Linked DNA regions of Homo sapiens: region 1 is linked to region 2. Evidence: promoter capture Hi-C in 16 types of primary human blood cells and fetal thymus (Javierre and others, 2016). All regions are on one chromosome and are shown on one strand. Each heading gives the region's core, a stretch centred on a gene start or on the middle of the fragment in contact. The rest is flanking DNA. Distances are from core to core; before and after follow the strand shown.

The links. The method cuts DNA at HindIII sites, captures the fragments that hold promoters and counts their contacts. A CHiCAGO score of 5 or more calls a contact.
Region 1: a fragment that was not itself captured here is called in contact with the fragment with the promoter of RASGRP4 in region 2 in 1 of 17 cell types (neutrophils); the score reaches 5.4 in neutrophils.

The regions. Positions count from the first base shown.
Region 1 is chr19:38,653,345-38,657,029 of GRCh38, forward strand. The region is part of intron 1 of ACTN4 (actinin alpha 4); the gene reads left to right. Among named protein-coding and RNA genes, the nearest start is that of ACTN4, 7.5 kb to the left of the region's middle. RefSeq lists enhancers at 538-1,406, 1,407-2,275 and a silencer at 2,395-2,444. The HindIII fragment of the contact is 2,323 bases long and covers 527-2,849 here.
Region 2 is chr19:38,423,690-38,427,568 of GRCh38, forward strand. It overlaps RASGRP4 (RAS guanyl releasing protein 4), which reads right to left and starts at 2,530. Exons shown (of 17, transcript NM_170604.3): 1 at 2,380-2,530. The coding sequence starts at 2,402. RefSeq lists a silencer at 2,406-2,465 and an enhancer at 3,358-3,872. The HindIII fragment of the contact is 20,985 bases long and covers 289-3,879 here.

The DNA of each region.
Region 1 (3,685 bases), core at 438-2,937, 230 kb after region 2:
TTTGCTACACTGATTTATGTTGTGCTGGGAATTGTACAAGCCTTTGACCAGACCTTAGGGTTGTTCTTTAAAAAAAAAAAAAAAAGATTCCCTTGCTGCTGCTTTTACTTTTTTGAAGGGCAGAAGGGAAGGGCAAATATAATTAGTGAACAGCTGTTTGCTCTAGTATCACTTGCTCGTTCAGGTTTTCTGAATAGCTGAAATATCAACATGTTTATCTCTTCCCTTGCCTTAGTATATCCTAGAGCAGTGTTTTCCCCGGCTTTATCTTTATTCCTTCATTTAATGAACTCCGTGTTTTCATCACTCACATTTTGTTCCCTTCCCTCAGTTTCCTTCCTTTGCCTTCATTTATGTATTTAGTTTACAGAATAACAAAAGCACTCGTGTTACTTTTAAACAAGGTAAAACTTAAACAGTTTTTTCCTCCGTTTCTTTTTTTATGGAAATAAGAGGCAAGTGATAGCAAGTGGGTAATTCAATGGCAGTGGTAACTGAAGCACTGACCTGTTACAAGAGAGACGGAAGCTTCTACTTGAGCAGATACAAATACTGTCATCCGTGGAGATTTGAAAGAAGTCTTTCTATCACTGGGTAGTTTGAGAGCTCATTAGTCTTCTTTAGAATGGGTTTAAACTTGGAAACATCAAAGCAAGTTACAAGGAAACTTAGTTTTACAGTGTTGGCAGCCTAGGCGCCAGAATTTGTTATAAAGTGTCTGAAAGTGGCCCAGGTATCACTTAACTTTTCTTCAAGAAGGTCTATGAGTTACATTTTACTCGGTATCCCAGGCATCAAGGAGTGTAACTTTCAATGAATCAAAGAGAAACAGAATCATTTTAAATTCCAGCCTCTGTTTAAAGAAGGATCTTATGAAGGGGAGAAATTAACCACCTGACCCAGGGAAGGATCCCGCCTCCTCCAGAAAGTGAAATCGCCGGGTGTGGTGGCTCACGCCTGTAATCCCAGCACTTTGGGAGGTCGAGGTAGGTGGATCACGTGAGGTCAGGACTTCAAGACCAGCCTGGCGAACATGGTGAAACCCCATCTCTACTAAAATGCAAAAAATTAGCCGGGCACGGTGGTGCACCCCTGTAATCCCAGCTACTGGGGAGGCTGAGGCAGGATAATCACTCAAACCTGGAAGGTGGAGGTTGCAGTCAGCTGAGATCACGCCACTGCACTCCAGCCTGGACGACAGAGTAAGGCTCCGTCTCAAAAAAAAAAAAAAAAGAAAAAGAAAAGGAGTTAAATCTTTGCATATATTTAACTGGCAAGAGCATCCTTACATCAGTGCATGGGAAGTTTTATCCAAGTAGCAGTTTCCCTGGGATTATAAAAATCCCCGAGGCATTTGTCTTGGTGTTGTGCCTTTTTTTGGTTGTGTTTTTTCACGTCCCTCCCCTCCCCTTTCTCCATAAACAAGAGAGGCATTAACTTGGAATGTCCGTGGAAAGTCTTAGAAGCTGATTGGTGTAATTTGCCTGCCTTCCCTTTAGTTTGAACAGCGTTTACTCTGGAAGAGGTCAGTGGCCTTTTTCTTGGTTGTGATTTATGCAAGTGTTATCTGAAGGCGAGTGGAGTGAGTTTACGTGGGATTTGCTGTTTGCCACCTGTTGTTGTGCTGGCTCCTTCCTTCCTGGGATGAGTTCCATTCTCTCCCCCTCCCCCAGGAGTGAGGCTCCCCAGCCAGAGCAGTCCCCCTGTGCTTATCCCCTTCCTTCGTAAACTGCAGCCATTTGTGATTTTCCATAACCACTTTTATAGACACATAATAATTTCCTTTGAATCAGTTTGCATTTTAAATTAAGTTTTGAAAGGAAAACTGACAAGAGTATGGCAACTGGAAAACCCAGCTCCCCTGGCCATAAATATAATAGAAGGAAACTGCAAAAATAAACACATTGAAAACAAAACAGTGTTGTTTCCAGGTGGTTACCACTCGGGCTGAAGGCCCCCCAGGCTTGAGGCCTGCTCCCTTTGTTAGAAAGGGATTGGCAAGTGTTGGTGAGGTGTTAAAGACCCACCAGCACCAAGCAGAGACTTTCTCTTTGAAGTCATCAGGTTTACAAGAGAATCAAAGGAAATAACTTTCTCAATGTGATTCAGGGTGTAATGTAAGGTGTAGATAACCCTTAAAATTTTCCATGTGTGTATGTCACACTTGGGAAAAAAACTTGATCTCATCTGGTCGAGGTGGGCAGGGCAGCACCTTGTCCAGGAGCACACAGCCCCTCTTGGCTCTGTGTGTCATCCGGCCATACTAGACTCGAACATATGGCTCATGACTGGATGATGCTTGATTCATCTTCAGTTTCAAGTGTTAGTGCTTTTGAGGTTTTGTAAGAAACCAGGACACATTGAAAATACAGTCATTTCTCAGTATCTGTGGGGGATTGGTTCCAGGAACCCCCTTATATACCAAAATCCACAGATGCTCAAGTTCCTTATGTAAGATAAAACGATGTGTAATTTGCATTTTAACTATGCACATCCTCCTGAATACTTTAAATCATCTCTAGATTACTTATAACCTAATGCTAAATGCTACGTAAATGGTTGTTACACTGTGCTGTTTAGGAAATAATGACAAAAATATGTACATGTTCAGTGCAGATGCAACCATTCATTTTTTTTCTTCCAGTATTTTCGATCCATTGTTGGTTGAATTCACAGATAGAGAACCCATGGATACAGAGGGCTAGCTGTAAGAAATGTGGGTTTATCATTTGTTCCTCACACAACTTTTTTCTTTCTTCGTTTTTCTTGCCTTTGTTCCTTTTTTTTGAGACAGGGTGTCACTCTTTTTACCAAGGCTGGAGTGCAGTGGAACAATCTTGGCTCACTGAAGCTTTGACCTCGGGCTCAAGCCATCCCCCCACCTCAGCTTCCCAAGTAGCTGGGACTAGAGGTGCACACCACCACGCCTGACTGATTTTTGTGTTTTTGTAGAGATGGGGTTTTGCTGTGTTGCCCAGTCTGGTCTCAGCCTCCCAAAGTCTTGGGATTACAGGTGTGAGTCACCACGCCCAGCCAACTTTTTCTCTTAAGGCTCCAGTTTTCTTCTTAGAGTTGGGCCCCTCCCACGAAGAAAGCACACTGCCACCCCTTCATCGGATTTGAACCCTACATTTTGAAAGGAAAGCAGTGCCCTCCTGCTGAGTTAACAAGGCTTATTTAAATGTTTTTCTTCCAAATATCAGAGCAGAACAGATTCTTTGTCTTCCAGTGGAACTATCCACATGGGGCAGAAGTAGTTGGAAGCGGCAGTTACTACCCTGCAGAACACAATGAAGTCATCTTGGGAAATATCGTGGATGGTGTTGCAATGATTGAATGGGATGCTAGAACACCAGCAATACAATAGCATTTGTGTCTTCAGCTTCAGGCAGGAATAAAGAAGACTTTGTGGTTTGTTTTATGTTTTTTAAAGTTTCCCCCCCAAAGGTGTGGGGCTGAGTGATGTCTGTCACTAGCTTTCTAGTGGGTTTTTCTTTTCATCTTTTCCCCTCCCTGATGTCTTTTGAGAGTGGGTGGAAGCCACAGTCTAGGTGGATCAGAGGAAGCACAGAAGGCAGGCAGTATACCCCACTTTGTGTTTTCCATGTCTGAAGGGAACACATTTGGTTTTTGTTCTGTTTTGATTTTTTAGAGACAGGGTTTCACTGTCACCCAGGCTGGAGTG
Region 2 (3,879 bases), core at 1,280-3,779:
AGCCAGGCGTGGTGGTGGGCTCCTGTAATCCCAGCTACTCAGGAGGCTGAGGCAGAAGACTTGCTTGAACCCAGGAGGCGGAGGTTGCAGTGAGCCGAGATCGTGCCACTGCACTCCAGCCTGGGCAACAGAGCGAGTCTTAGTCTCAAAATAATAATAATAATAATAGTAATAATAGTAATAATAATTCTCCCTCTGCCTGGTGCCTCCCAGAGGCTGCTGTTCCTGATAGGGGAAGAGGGTAATGGAGAGACAAGGATGGTGGGAGCAGGGAGGCTGCTGAATCCAAGCTTCAGACGAAAGTAGAATCCAGAAATTTTTGCCAGCTGTTGTGACTTCGTGTTAGTCACTTAATTTCTCTGGGGCTCAATTTCCTCGAAGGAAAAATGAGGATAGTCCTTGGACCTTCTCCAGGGATTTCTTTTTTCTTTCTTTCTTTCTTTTTTTGGAGACAGGGTCTCACTCTGTCACCCAGGCTGGAGTGCAGTGGTGCGATCTCAGCTCACTGCAACCTCCACCTCCCGGGTTCAAGCAATTCTCCTGCCTCAGCCTCCCAAGTAGTTGGGACTACAGGCACGTGCCACCACGCCGAGCTAATTTTTGTATTTTTAGTAGAAATGGGGTTTCACCATGTTGGCCAGGCTGGTTTCAAACTCCTGGGCCCAACTGATCCTCCCACCTTTGCCTCTGAAAGTGCTGGGATTACAGGTGTGAGCCATCACGCCAGGCTCCCACCTCTACCCTTTTTCAGACAGGGTCTTGCTCTGTCTCCCAGGCTGGAGCACAGTTGTGCAATCAAAGCTCATTGTAACCTTGAACTCCTGGACTCGAGTGATCCTCCTGCCTTAGTCTCCCAGGTAGCTGGGACTACAGGTGTGCACGACCATACCCAGCTAATTTTGTGTGTGTGTTTGGGTGTGTGTCAATGGGGGGGGGGGTCTCACTATATTTCTCAGGCTGGTCTAGAACTCCTGGCTTCAAGTTCTCCTTGTCTTATCCTCCCAAAGTGCTGGGATTAGAGGCATGAGCCATCGTTACTAGAAGGGACATTTTAAAGTATTATATATGTCCTAGGCTAAGGAAGGAGCATTCTAACTAAGTCAGCATTTCCCTAAGTGTGGGCACCCAGCTAGTACCAAAAGCATCACCTGGGAACTGGATATCAATACAGATTCTCAGGTCCCAACCCAGACCTACAAAATCAAACACTTTAAGGCTAAGGGTGGTGGCTCATGCCTCTAATCCCAGCACTTTGGGAGGCCGAGGTGGGTGGATCACGAGGTCAAGAGATCGAGACCATCCTGCCCAACATGGTGAAACCCCATCTCTACTAAAAATACAAAAAAGTAGCTGGGTGTGGTGGTGCACACCTGTAGTCCCAGCTACTTGGGAGGCTGAGGCAGGATGATCGCTTGAACCCGGGAGGCAGAGGTTGCAGTGAGCCAAGATTGTGCCACTGCACTCCAGCCTGGCGGCAGAGCGAGACTCCGTCTCAAAAAAAAAAAACAAAAAAAAAAAAACCAAACACTTTAAAGGTAAGCCCAGCAACCTGTATTTTACAAGCCCTCCAGACAGTTCTGAGGCTCGCTCCAGTTTGAGAACCACTGGTCTAGAGTGTCTCATTGAGTACTTACAGGCCTCTCCGAGGTAGAGGATATGATTGTTCTACTGACAGAAGAAAAACCCGAGACACAGAGCAGTTAAGTGACTTACCTAAGGTCACACAGCTAGGAAATTAGGCAGCCAGGAGTCTACCACTAAACTGCTGGGTGGGGAGGAAAGCCCTTTGCCCATCAGAGTGGTGCTGGGGGTGGCAGGAGGAGTTACCCAGGCTAGGGAGCCACCCACCATCTGCCTCTGTGGGGACAGAAGGGCCAGCTTGCCCAGGAGATGAAGCCCATTCCAGAACCGGCCGCACAGCCAGCCACTAGGCCCTGTCCTGCAGCCCCCTGTAGGGGTCTGGAACAGCCAGGAGTGGTTTAAGAGGCAGGGGAGTCGCCTTGCCCTGTGCCACACTCCCCTCTCCTGGGCCAGGCCCTGCAGGAGCCTGGAGTTTCCAGTCCACGGGGATGGGGAACCAGGAAGCCCCCAGGGAGGGCAGAGACACTCAGCCCAGGCCAGGGATGGAGGTGGGGTGATGAGGAGTGGAAAAGGGGCACGGAGCAGCTCAAACTCCAGGGACAACACGGTACAGATGCCACATACAAGCGACTGCAGCCGTAGCTGGCTCCAGACTCCCTGAAGCATCCACCTGGCCCCCCTGCGCCTGATCCCAAAGAAGTCAGGAATCCTGCCACCCTGGCGAGTGATCTCCCCAGCCCTCCCATGCAGAGGGAGGCCTCAGGGTGCTGCCGGGCTCCCTGGGGAGGGTCCTCTCACCTCTTACTGTCTTTTCTGTTCATGCTTCCCGCGTGGGGTGAGGAGGCCGGGGGTCTTGCAAGAGTAGGGCTCAGCTCCTCCCCTTGCCCAGGACTCCAGCTTCTCAGCCCCTAGGGAGCTGGGGCCTCCTCGGTGCTTGGGAAGGAAAGAGGAACTGCCCCTCCCCACCCACCCTCAGGCCAGGGGGAAGGAAGAGGCTGGGGAGAGACCGAAGGCCCCCCTCCCCCACACGGGGATCCCTTCTGCTGAGGTTTCCGGCATCGCTGGCTCTCCCACCCTCAAGCTCCCCGGCGGGCTCTCTATCTCCCCCATCTTTCGGTGTCGAGACCCGTCACTGTCATACTTCAATAAAAGAAGGGGCTTTTCTTTTTAAAGCATGACTGATATTTATGTAAAAACACACACACTCACTCAAAAAGATAAGTCTGTCTGTCTAGAAGGACATATTCATATATATAATTCATGAAGGTTTGAATGGAAACTCACAAGACATAGTATTTTGTATATTTCTTCATAGGCGTCTCTTATTCCTAGTTTAAGTGATACCATTTGTACCCTGGAAAACATTTTCACTTTCTGACTTTATTGTAACAAACCTCCACATAGCACCTACTGTGTACCACACACTGCTGTAAGGACTTTAAAAATATTAACTCATTTAATCCTCACACAATCCACTGTTACCTTAAAAAAAATTACATACCGGACCAGGCACGGGGGCTCACAGGGGCTCACGCCTGTCATCCAGCACTTTGGGAGGCCAAGGCAGGCGGATCGCTTGAGTCTAAGAGTTTGAGACCAGCTTGAACAACGTGACAAAACCCCGTCTCTACAAAAAATGTAAAACGTTAGGCCGGTGTGGTGGCTCACTCCTGCAATCCCAGCACTTTGGGAGGCCGAGGTGGGCGGATCACCTGAGGTTGGGAGTTTAAGACCAGCCTGAGCAACATGGAGAAACCCCGTCTCTACTAAAAATACAAAATTAGCCAGGCGTTGTGGCACATGCCTGTAATCCCAGCTACTCGGCAGGCTGAGGCAGGAGAATTGCTTGAACCCAGGAGGCGGAGGTTGCCGTGAGCCGAGATCGCGCCATTGCACTCCAGCCTGGGCAACAGGAGCGAAACTCTGTCTCAAAAAAAAAAAGTTAGCTGAGCGTAGTGATGCACACTTGTAGTCCCAGCTACTCAGGAGGCTGAGGCTAGAAGATTGCTTGAGCCCAAGGAGGTCGAGGCTGCAGTGAACCATGATGGTGCCACTGCACTTCAGTCTGCGTGGCAGAGCCAGACCCTGTCTCAAAAAACAAAAAACAAAAAAAAAAAACACACACACACATCAAAAAACATTAGAGATGGAGGTAAAGCCTTGGGGAAGCCCCTCCCCATCCCCTGCCTTTCTTAAGCAGGGTGTGACCAATATGACACGTTGTCGAGTTTCGTCCAAACTGCTGTCTGTGCGTTTAAGCACATCATATAAACATGTGCTCCTAGAAACAGACTTTTC